Regions from separate parts of the Homo sapiens genome. Here regions 1 and 3 are each linked to region 2. The links are contacts of gene promoters, found by promoter capture Hi-C in human tissues and cell types (Jung and others, 2019). All regions are on one chromosome and are shown on one strand. The core of a region is centred on a gene start or on the middle of the fragment in contact, and the rest is flanking DNA. Distances in the headings are between cores, read along the strand shown. Region 1 overlaps GNG7 (G protein subunit gamma 7). Region 2 holds the start of CELF5 (CUGBP Elav-like family member 5). Region 3 holds the start of TIMM13 (translocase of inner mitochondrial membrane 13).

Region 1 (2,700 bases), core at 81-2,580, 540 kb before region 2:
CTGCCTCTACTAAAAATACAAAATTAGCCAGGCATGGTGGCCCATGCCTGTAATCCCAGCTAGTTGGGAGGTTGAGGTAGGAGAATCGCTTGAGCCCGGGAGGCAGAGGTTGCGGTGAGCCGAGATCGCACCATTGCACTCCAGCCTGGGCAACAAGAGTGAAACTCCATCTCAAAAAACAAACAAACAAAAAAAAGTGCTGGCATGACAGGAGTAAGCCACCAGCCTGGCCAAGAAGTTTAAATCATGATGCCGGGCGCGGTGGCTCACGCCTGTAATTCCAGCACTTTGGGAGGCCGAGGCAGGCAGATCACATGGTCAGGAGTTCGAGACCAGCCTGGCCAACACGGCGAAACCCCATCTCTACTAAAAATACAAAAAATTAGCCGGGCAAGGTGGCACGCACCTGTAATCCCAACTATTTGGGAGGCTGAGGCAGGAGAATCAGTTGAACCTGAGTGAGCTGAGATCGTGCCACTGTACTCCAACCTGGGCAACAAGAACAAAACTCTGCCTCCAGATAAAATAGCCGGGCGCGGTGGCTCACGCCTGTAATCCCAGCACTTTGGGAGGCCGAGCTGGGCAGATCACAAGGTCAGGAGATCGAGACTATCCTGGCTAACACGGTGAAACCCCGTCCCTACTAAAAATAACAAAAAATTAGCCGGGCATGGTGGCGGGTGCCTGTAGTCCCAGTTACTCGGGAGGCTGAGGCAGGAGAATGGTGTAAACCCAGGAGGTGGAGCTTGCAGTGAGCCAAGATCGCGCCACTGCACTCCAGCCTGGGCGACAGAGCGAGACTCCGTCTCAACAAAAGAAAAAAGAAATCATGATGCAAAGATGAAAAGCAAAGTTTGCCGTACGAAGGATGGAGTCGGTGTCAGTGCTCTGGGGAAGTGGGGAGTTCCCTCAGCAAGAATGACCTCAGAGTAGCTGGTAGGTGGGCTAAGGCCACCTGGGCTGGGAGAACCAGGTTAACAGCACCAGTAGGAAGTCACCAGGGTCTCAAGGATCCCCAGCAGGGAGAGAGCAACAGGGCACCTCACCCCTACGTGTTCTTTCCCGAAACCCGTAACCCCGGTCTGATCACGAGAGAAATATCTGACAAACCTAGATCAGAAGTAAGTCTGCACAATACCCAGCCGGTCCCCCTAAGACCGTCCAGGTCACGAGAGGTAACGAACATCTAAGACATGGTCCCAACCTGGAAGAACCCCCGGAGACGAGCCGGCTAAATGTCACGTGGGATTCTAGATGGGTCCTGGGGCAGGAAAGGACATTAGGGGAAGATTAATGACATTTGAATAAAGTGTGGAGTTGAGAGAAATGAACCCATTGTTAGCCGGGCACAGTGGCTCCCGTCTGTCCTCCTAACACTTTGGGAGTCCGGGGTGGCAGGATCACTTGTGTTCAGGAGTTCGAGACCAGCCTAGGCAAAATAGCGAGACCTCATCTCTACAATAAAACAAAAATTAGCCAGGCACGGGGTTGCGTGCCTGTGGTCCCAGCTACTCAGGAGGCTGAGGTGGGAGGATCGCTTGAGCCCAGGAGTTGGAGGCTACAGTGAGCCATGATCACTCCACTGCACTTAGCCTGGGCGACAGAGTAAGACTCTGTCTCAAAAAAAAATGTAAATGTAAATTTAAAAAATATTACTTTTAATGGCAAAGACCACAATTATGTTTGCCCCAACATAATAAATACATACAATAAATAAATAAATAAGAAAAAAATAAACAAAAATAAAAATAATGCAAAAAAAAAGGGGGAAAAAAATGCCAATCATACTATGCATGGCACCGTGTTATAGGGGAAAAAAAATAATTATATAAAATTGTTCCCAAATCATTAAGCCCTTCTCATTATGGAGGCTACAGGAATAAACGCTCCTAACAAGACCACATTTGGGCCGGGCTCGGTGGGCCTCCCAGCACTTTGGGAGGCCAAGGCGGGTGGATCACCTGAGGTCAGAAGTTCGAGACCAGCCTGGCCATCATGGTGAAACCCCGTCTCTACTAAAAATACAAAAAATAGCCGGGTGTGGTGGTGGACGCCTGTAATCCCAGCTACTCAGGAGGCTAAGGCAGGAGGATCACTTGAACCTGGGAGGCGGAGGCTGCAGTGAGCTGAGATGGCGCCATTGCACTCCAGCCTGGGCTACAGAGTGAGACTCCAACTCAAAAAAAAAAAAAAAAAAAAAAAAAAACCATATTCGATGCAATTCTCTGAAGTTAACTGTTAGAGCTCTGACAACACAGAGGCTGAAATGACATGACAAATGCTAAAGTACAAAGTTCCAAGATCAAGTCCCAGCATGACCACTAACTCGTGAAACCTCCAGACCTCAGTTTTCCCATGCATAAAGCGTGCGAGATGGACTCGAGGGCCAACACGCTTTTTCGGTAAGAGTCCAGATACCCAGTGTTTTCAGCCTTGCGGTGGAGCCACTCTCTACGGCAACGACTTAACTACACCATGGTAGCAGAATACACAGAGCAGTGTGCCAATAAAACATTATTTCTGGACACTAAAATCTGAATGCCATATAATTGTCATGTGTCATGGCCTTTTCTTTGACTTTTGTTTTTTGCTTCTTTTGGCGGCGGGTAGAAGCAGGGCTTCCTTTGACTTTTTTTTCCAACCATTTAAAAATGGAGGCCGGGCACGGTGGCTCACGTCTGTAATCCCAGCACTTTGGGA
Region 2 (2,700 bases), core at 50-2,549:
AGCCTCCTGAGTAGCTGGGATTACAGGCATGCACAACCATGCCTGGCTAATTTTTGTGTTTTTAGTAGAGACAGAGTTTTCTCCATGTTGATCAGGCTGGTCTCGAACTCCTGATCTCAGGTGATCCACCTGCCTCAGCCTCCCAAAGTGCTGGGATTACAGGTGTGAGCCATCGTGCCTGGCCTGTTTTCTTATTTTTTACAGCAATGGCGTCTCACTATGTTGCTCAGGCTGGTCTCCAACTCCTGGGCTCAAGTGGTCCTCCTGACTCTGCTTCTCAAAGTGCTGGGATTACAGGTGTGAGCCACCACGGCCAGCACGTATTATTATTTTTATTAATATTATTGATGAGTTTCATACGTAAAGGATCACGGGCACTTTAGAGCTGGGAGATACTTCAGTATTTCTCCTATCCTGTCATTATCAGTGCGAGCCAGTCTCCCTCCTTGTTGATGACATTATTGATGAGTTACATACTTAAAGGGCCAAGGACACTTTCTATGTGTAAGCACCCTATAGAACTGGAAGATACTTTTACCATTTCTCCTGTGCTGTCGTGATTAGTGGGAGCACTTTGTCTTGCTCTTGATTAATTATTATTAGTGTTGTTATTATTAGGTGTTTTTTTTTTTTTTTTTTACCAAGACGGAGTTTTGCTCTTGTTGCCCAGGCTGGAGTACAATGGCACAATCTTGGCTCACTGCAACCTCCGCCTCCTGGGTTCAAGTGATTATCCTGCCTCAGCCTCCCGAGTAGCTGGGATTACAGGCACCCCCCGCCACCGAGCCCAGCTAATTTTTGTATTCTTTAGTAGAGACGGGGTTTCACCGTGTTAGCCAGTCTGGTCTCGAACTCCTGACCTCAAGTGATCCACCCACCTCGGCCTCCCAAAGTGCTGAGATGACAGGCGTGAGCCACCGCGCCCAGCCATATTATTAGTGTTATTAATATTATTGATGAGTTACCTACTTTAAGGATCACGGGCGCTTTCAACGACAAGCCCCCTACATTATCCCAGCAACTTTTGACATTCTTCCGGCCGATGCCCTCCGCGGGAGCCGGCGGGGACCCCTGGGAAGCCGGCTAAGGCCCGTCCCGCCCGCAGCTCCGCCCTCGCCCACCCGTAGGCGGGGCCCGGGGCCTTCCGGCCTCAGTTTCCCCCCGCGGCCCGGGGATGCGGGGAGGCGCCGGCTGCCCCGCGCGGCGCGGCCGCCAGGGGCCGCTGCGGAGCCGCCTTTGTGGTCCCGATGCCGGGGCGGGCGCGGGCGGGAGGAGGGCGCGGGGGCCCGGGAGGGAGGCGGGAGGCGCGGCCGCCGCTCCAGCTGCGAGTCCGCCCGCCGCCCGCCGCCGCCGCCGCCGGCTCGGTCCCGCGCCCGCCATGGCCCGCCTGACGGAGAGCGAGGCGCGCCGGCAGCAGCAGCAGCTCCTGCAGCCGCGGCCCTCGCCCGTGGGCAGCAGCGGGCCCGAGCCCCCCGGGGGGCAGCCCGACGGCATGAAGGACCTGGACGCCATCAAACTCTTCGTGGGCCAGATCCCGCGGCACCTGGACGAGAAGGACCTCAAGCCGCTCTTCGAGCAGTTCGGCCGCATCTACGAGCTCACGGTGCTCAAAGACCCCTACACGGGGATGCACAAAGGTGGGCGCCCGGCCCCCTCCCCCCTCTCCCCCTCCCTCCGCCTCCCACCCCACCTTCCGGCATCTTCTCTCCCCCATCACCATCCCTCCTCTGCTCACCTCCCTCCTCTGCCTGCCTCTGCCGGAGCATCGGTTCTTACCCCCTCCCTCCCACCCACCCCTCCTCCCCTCTCTGGGGGTGCAGCTGACAGATCCGAGCGGGCCCCCTCCCCTCCTCCGCCCCCTCTCCCTCCCTCCCCACCTTCCGGCATCTCCTCTCTCTCTCCCTCTCTCTCTCCCTCTCTCTCTCCCTTTCTCTTCTCTCCCATCTCCCTCGACCTCTCATCCTTCCCCCCACAGCACCCTCTCTCTCCCTCCCTCCCTCCCTCACCCTTCCATCCCCCAGACCCCCACCCCTTCCTCCCTCCCTCACCCCACTCTTTCCTGCCCGTTTGCCAGGGGAGCCTCGGGAACGCCGGCACCCCTCCCTGCCCCCCCACCCCCATTCATTCAGCCTCCCCAGGCCCCGTCGGGGAAGTTTGCACCTGCGGACTCCATTGCTTTGGTTATTTTCACAAAGCCAGGCCGGCGGGGCAGGTCCGGCCGCGGGGGACACGGATGCCCAGGACCCCAGGCTAATCGGTAACTACAAAGGAAGACGGGTTGGGGGCGCCCGGCTCGGGGGGACGCGCCCGCCTCGCCTGCCTCGGGTGGCGGAGAGGCTCCCGTCGCTGCCCACCCCCTGGCCCCACCACCTCCGCGTGGATCAGCATTCTCTCCTCCATTTCTCTGCCCTCCCCCTCCCCCGCCTCCACCTTGGGCTCAAGTTGAAACTGGCCGAGCCTCTTAGCAATGTGTTGGGGTCTCAGGCCCAAGACAATGAGCTTGGACGTGTCCATCTGGGCAGAGCCCAAATTCTGGGGTGGACAGGGAGGAGGAGGGAGGCGTGGGCGGCCTCAGGCCTGTCTGCCTCCCTCCCACTGGATTCTCCCTCCGATGGCATCCCGGGTGGGGGTGTCCGGCAATTGTATCCCCAGCCCTTGGTTCCCATCATGGGCCCAGCGTCTGAATTGGGGTGGCTTTGA
Region 3 (2,700 bases), core at 1-2,500, 800 kb before region 2:
GAAGCAGGGTCAAAGCAAGCCCTGACAAGGGGAAGGCTGTCCCCCTTAGCCTTTGGGGCAGGGGTGGCAGCAGCAACACATTCCTCGTGACTCAGCAGCCCGGTGGCACTAAGGGGAAAGATGGACTTCTCCCAACCCAGGGGAGGCTGAGACCCTCCGAGCTGGGGTTCCAGGGACACGCGTCACCTCTTCCCAGAGACCCCTCAGGAGGGAAATAAAGAGGTTTCTCTCCGTCCTCCACCAATTTATTTGCCCATCCGCAGGAGGTGACAGCTCCTGTGGTGTCTGACCACCCCCAACTCCGAAGTCCAGACAAGCTGTCCGCCCAGAATATGAGGCTGACTTGGGCACACTAGGGGAATACCCCAAAGGCCTGAAGGAGGTGCCACTGGGCTGCCAGCACTTCAGGAAGGCACAGGGCCCCACACCCCCGAGATCCAAGCTGCACTGGCTGGCAGGGGGCAGGGCGGGGGGTGGCGAGGACACAGTCCCGTGTGTCCCAGCACCGGTGCCACCCTCCTAAGCCCCGGGCAGGCAGTACGTACATGCGGACCCCGCCTCTCAAAGCACGTTTATGGAAATGAACAGGGTGGGGTGGCCCGCGCTCGCCGGTCACATGTTGGCTCGTTCCCGCTGCAGCCGCGAGTTGTAGGCGCGAGACACGGTGTTCCAGGCGTCCATGTAGCGGTCCATGCACATGGCGATGCACTTCTGCGGGAGCGGAGGGGCGCACGGCTCAGCTCGGGACTTCGCGGCCCCGGGGACCGCCCTGACCCCGGCTCCAGGACGCCCGGGCTGCAGACTACGCACGTGCAGTGACCACTCCGTCGCACCTCCCCGTTAGTCTGCGCACGCGCAGACACCTCCCCCCTCGAATCTAGGCCCTCGCGACCCTTGCCCCGAACCTCCGCGGGTCTCACCTGCTCGGAGTTGTCCAGGGAGCCCCCAGGTTTCCCTATACACTTCCGGAAACACTTGTCCGTCATCCTCTGTGGAGACACGCGAGGCTTTAGCCGCGACGTCGGCCCCCAGGGGTGGCCCTGTCGCCCCCAGCGCCCGTCCCCGGCCAGCCCCGCACCTGCAGCAGCTCCTGCGCGTTGGCCACGGCGATCTGCACTTTCACCTGCTCCATTATGAGCCCTGGGTCCAGCTTCCCGCTGCCGGAGCCCCCGAAATCGGAGCCGAAGCCGCCCTCCATGGCTCCGCAAAGTCAACCGGACCGAGGCCGCGTGCGCCGACTCGTAACTAACTGCGCCGGAAGCGGGCCGCCCGGGGCACCACGGGAAACGGAGTCCGCGCGGACGGGGACGGAGGACTACAACTCCCACACGACCGCGCGCGCCCGGGCCATTCAAGGTCGCGCGGGGGGCCCTCCGCTCATGCGGAGGCCTGGACCTGCCGTTACCTACACGAGCTACCCGTGGTTGCGACTCCGCGGGAAGAGGGAGGCCCTGACTTGGCCGGGGAGTAGGGGGGCTACTACGTGCGGCCGAGGCCGATCACTTTGTACTCACGCTCTGCCTCCAGCTCGTCCCGAAGGGCCTGCCGCGCATGCGCACGAGGCACCCGGCGCGTCTATACAGCGTGTTGCCGCCGGGGCGGAGCCCGGTCGCATCACGTGACGAAGAGTCAGCTTGTGCAACAGCGTCGGAGGCTCACTAGAAAAAAAAGGGCAGGGTCCCATGCATCGCCTGGGTCCTGTTTACACTAGCTACACTAGCCAGTGACCTTTTTCCTTGGGGGTGGAGGGATCTTTCTTAGACATCCGCTTCATTAGGGCAGAGGCCCCGGCTCGAGCTTCCCCTCAGGAATAAACTCAGAGGCAGAACCTAAAATCAAAATGTTTATTGGAGTGTTGTACAAAAAAGTTTCCAGTCATAAAATGTATATTACAAATCATTGGAAAAAAAAAAGAACACATTAGGCATGCATCTTCTTAAAAACCGAATCTCTGAAATGAAAGTCCATGCCAGCCCCAGCTGCAGCCCAGCTCCGTTTTTGCAGGTTGTGCTGTGACGCTCGCTGGACGCAGGGCTTGGAAGAGGCTGCAGGCGGCGACGCCCCAGGACTGAGGAGTCCCTCAGATCTTTAACAAAGAACTGCCGCGTGCAGGCTTCAGACCAACCCCAGCCAAAGCCGCTGGCATGAGGACAGGTGCATGATCGGATTCTGGGTCAGCCCGCAGGCCTCCCGGCTCCTGGGCTCAGCGGGGCAGGCTTCAGCGTTAACCTGGCGCTGTGCACCCCAGAACCCGCGTTGGTCCAGCAGGCGTGGGCCTCCCCCCAGGGCTGGGTGGCGTCTGATGCTTCGCAGGGAGGGCGCTAGGCTTCGAGTCACACGGCACGGGCTTACACAGAGGGATGGTTTCGCATCGTTCTAAGCGGCACACAGCTAAGCGTATTTGGGGACAAATGCAAATTGTTTCCCAGGCCATAAATAACTTTTAAAAATTTGATTTTCTTAGTGTTTCCAAAGACTCAATTCTCAATGAACCTCCAATTACCCACAGGCTGCCCAGTCCACGCTTCTCCCCACCCCCTTCAGCTAAGGGCACCCGCAGTCCTAGGACCACCCCCAGCTCCACCCAAGGCAAATGTAGGGTGGGGGGTTCTGTGGGCCTGGGGCGTGCTGTTTTCAGGACAGGACTGGGCAGCGTCTGGACATGAGGACCTGCGGGTTTTGGGGGGGACTTTGTCCCTG

Evidence for each region. Contacts are between HindIII fragments. The study calls those that stand out against the background at their distance.
Region 1: a contact is called between a fragment that was not itself captured here and the fragment with the promoter of CELF5 in region 2, in 2 of the 25 tissues and cell types used here (small bowel and stomach).
Region 3: a contact is called between the fragment with the promoter of TIMM13 here and the fragment with the promoter of CELF5 in region 2, in 2 of the 25 tissues and cell types used here (dorsolateral prefrontal cortex and stomach).

What each region holds. Positions count from the first base shown.
Region 1 is chr19:2,687,444-2,690,143 of GRCh38, forward strand. All of the region lies in intron 1 of GNG7 (G protein subunit gamma 7), which reads right to left. Among named protein-coding and RNA genes, the nearest start is that of GNG7, 14 kb to the right of the region's middle. The HindIII fragment of the contact is 8,454 bases long and covers 1-2,700 here.
Region 2 is chr19:3,223,362-3,226,061 of GRCh38, forward strand. CELF5 (CUGBP Elav-like family member 5) reads left to right here and starts at 1,300. Exons shown (of 13, transcript NM_021938.4): 1 at 1,300-1,637. The coding sequence starts at 1,379. RefSeq lists a silencer at 1,121-1,240. The HindIII fragment of the contact is 19,492 bases long and covers 1-2,700 here.
Region 3 is chr19:2,426,336-2,429,035 of GRCh38, forward strand. TIMM13 (translocase of inner mitochondrial membrane 13) reads right to left here and starts at 1,251. Exons shown (of 3, transcript NM_012458.4): 1 at 1,079-1,251; 2 at 921-989; 3 at 1-711. The coding sequence starts at 1,198. The coding sequence ends at 613. LMNB2 (lamin B2) reads right to left here. Exons shown (of 12, transcript NM_032737.4): 12 at 1,831-2,700. RefSeq lists enhancers at 1-741, 742-1,487, 1,572-1,721 and a silencer at 932-1,021. The HindIII fragment of the contact is 21,330 bases long and covers 1-2,700 here.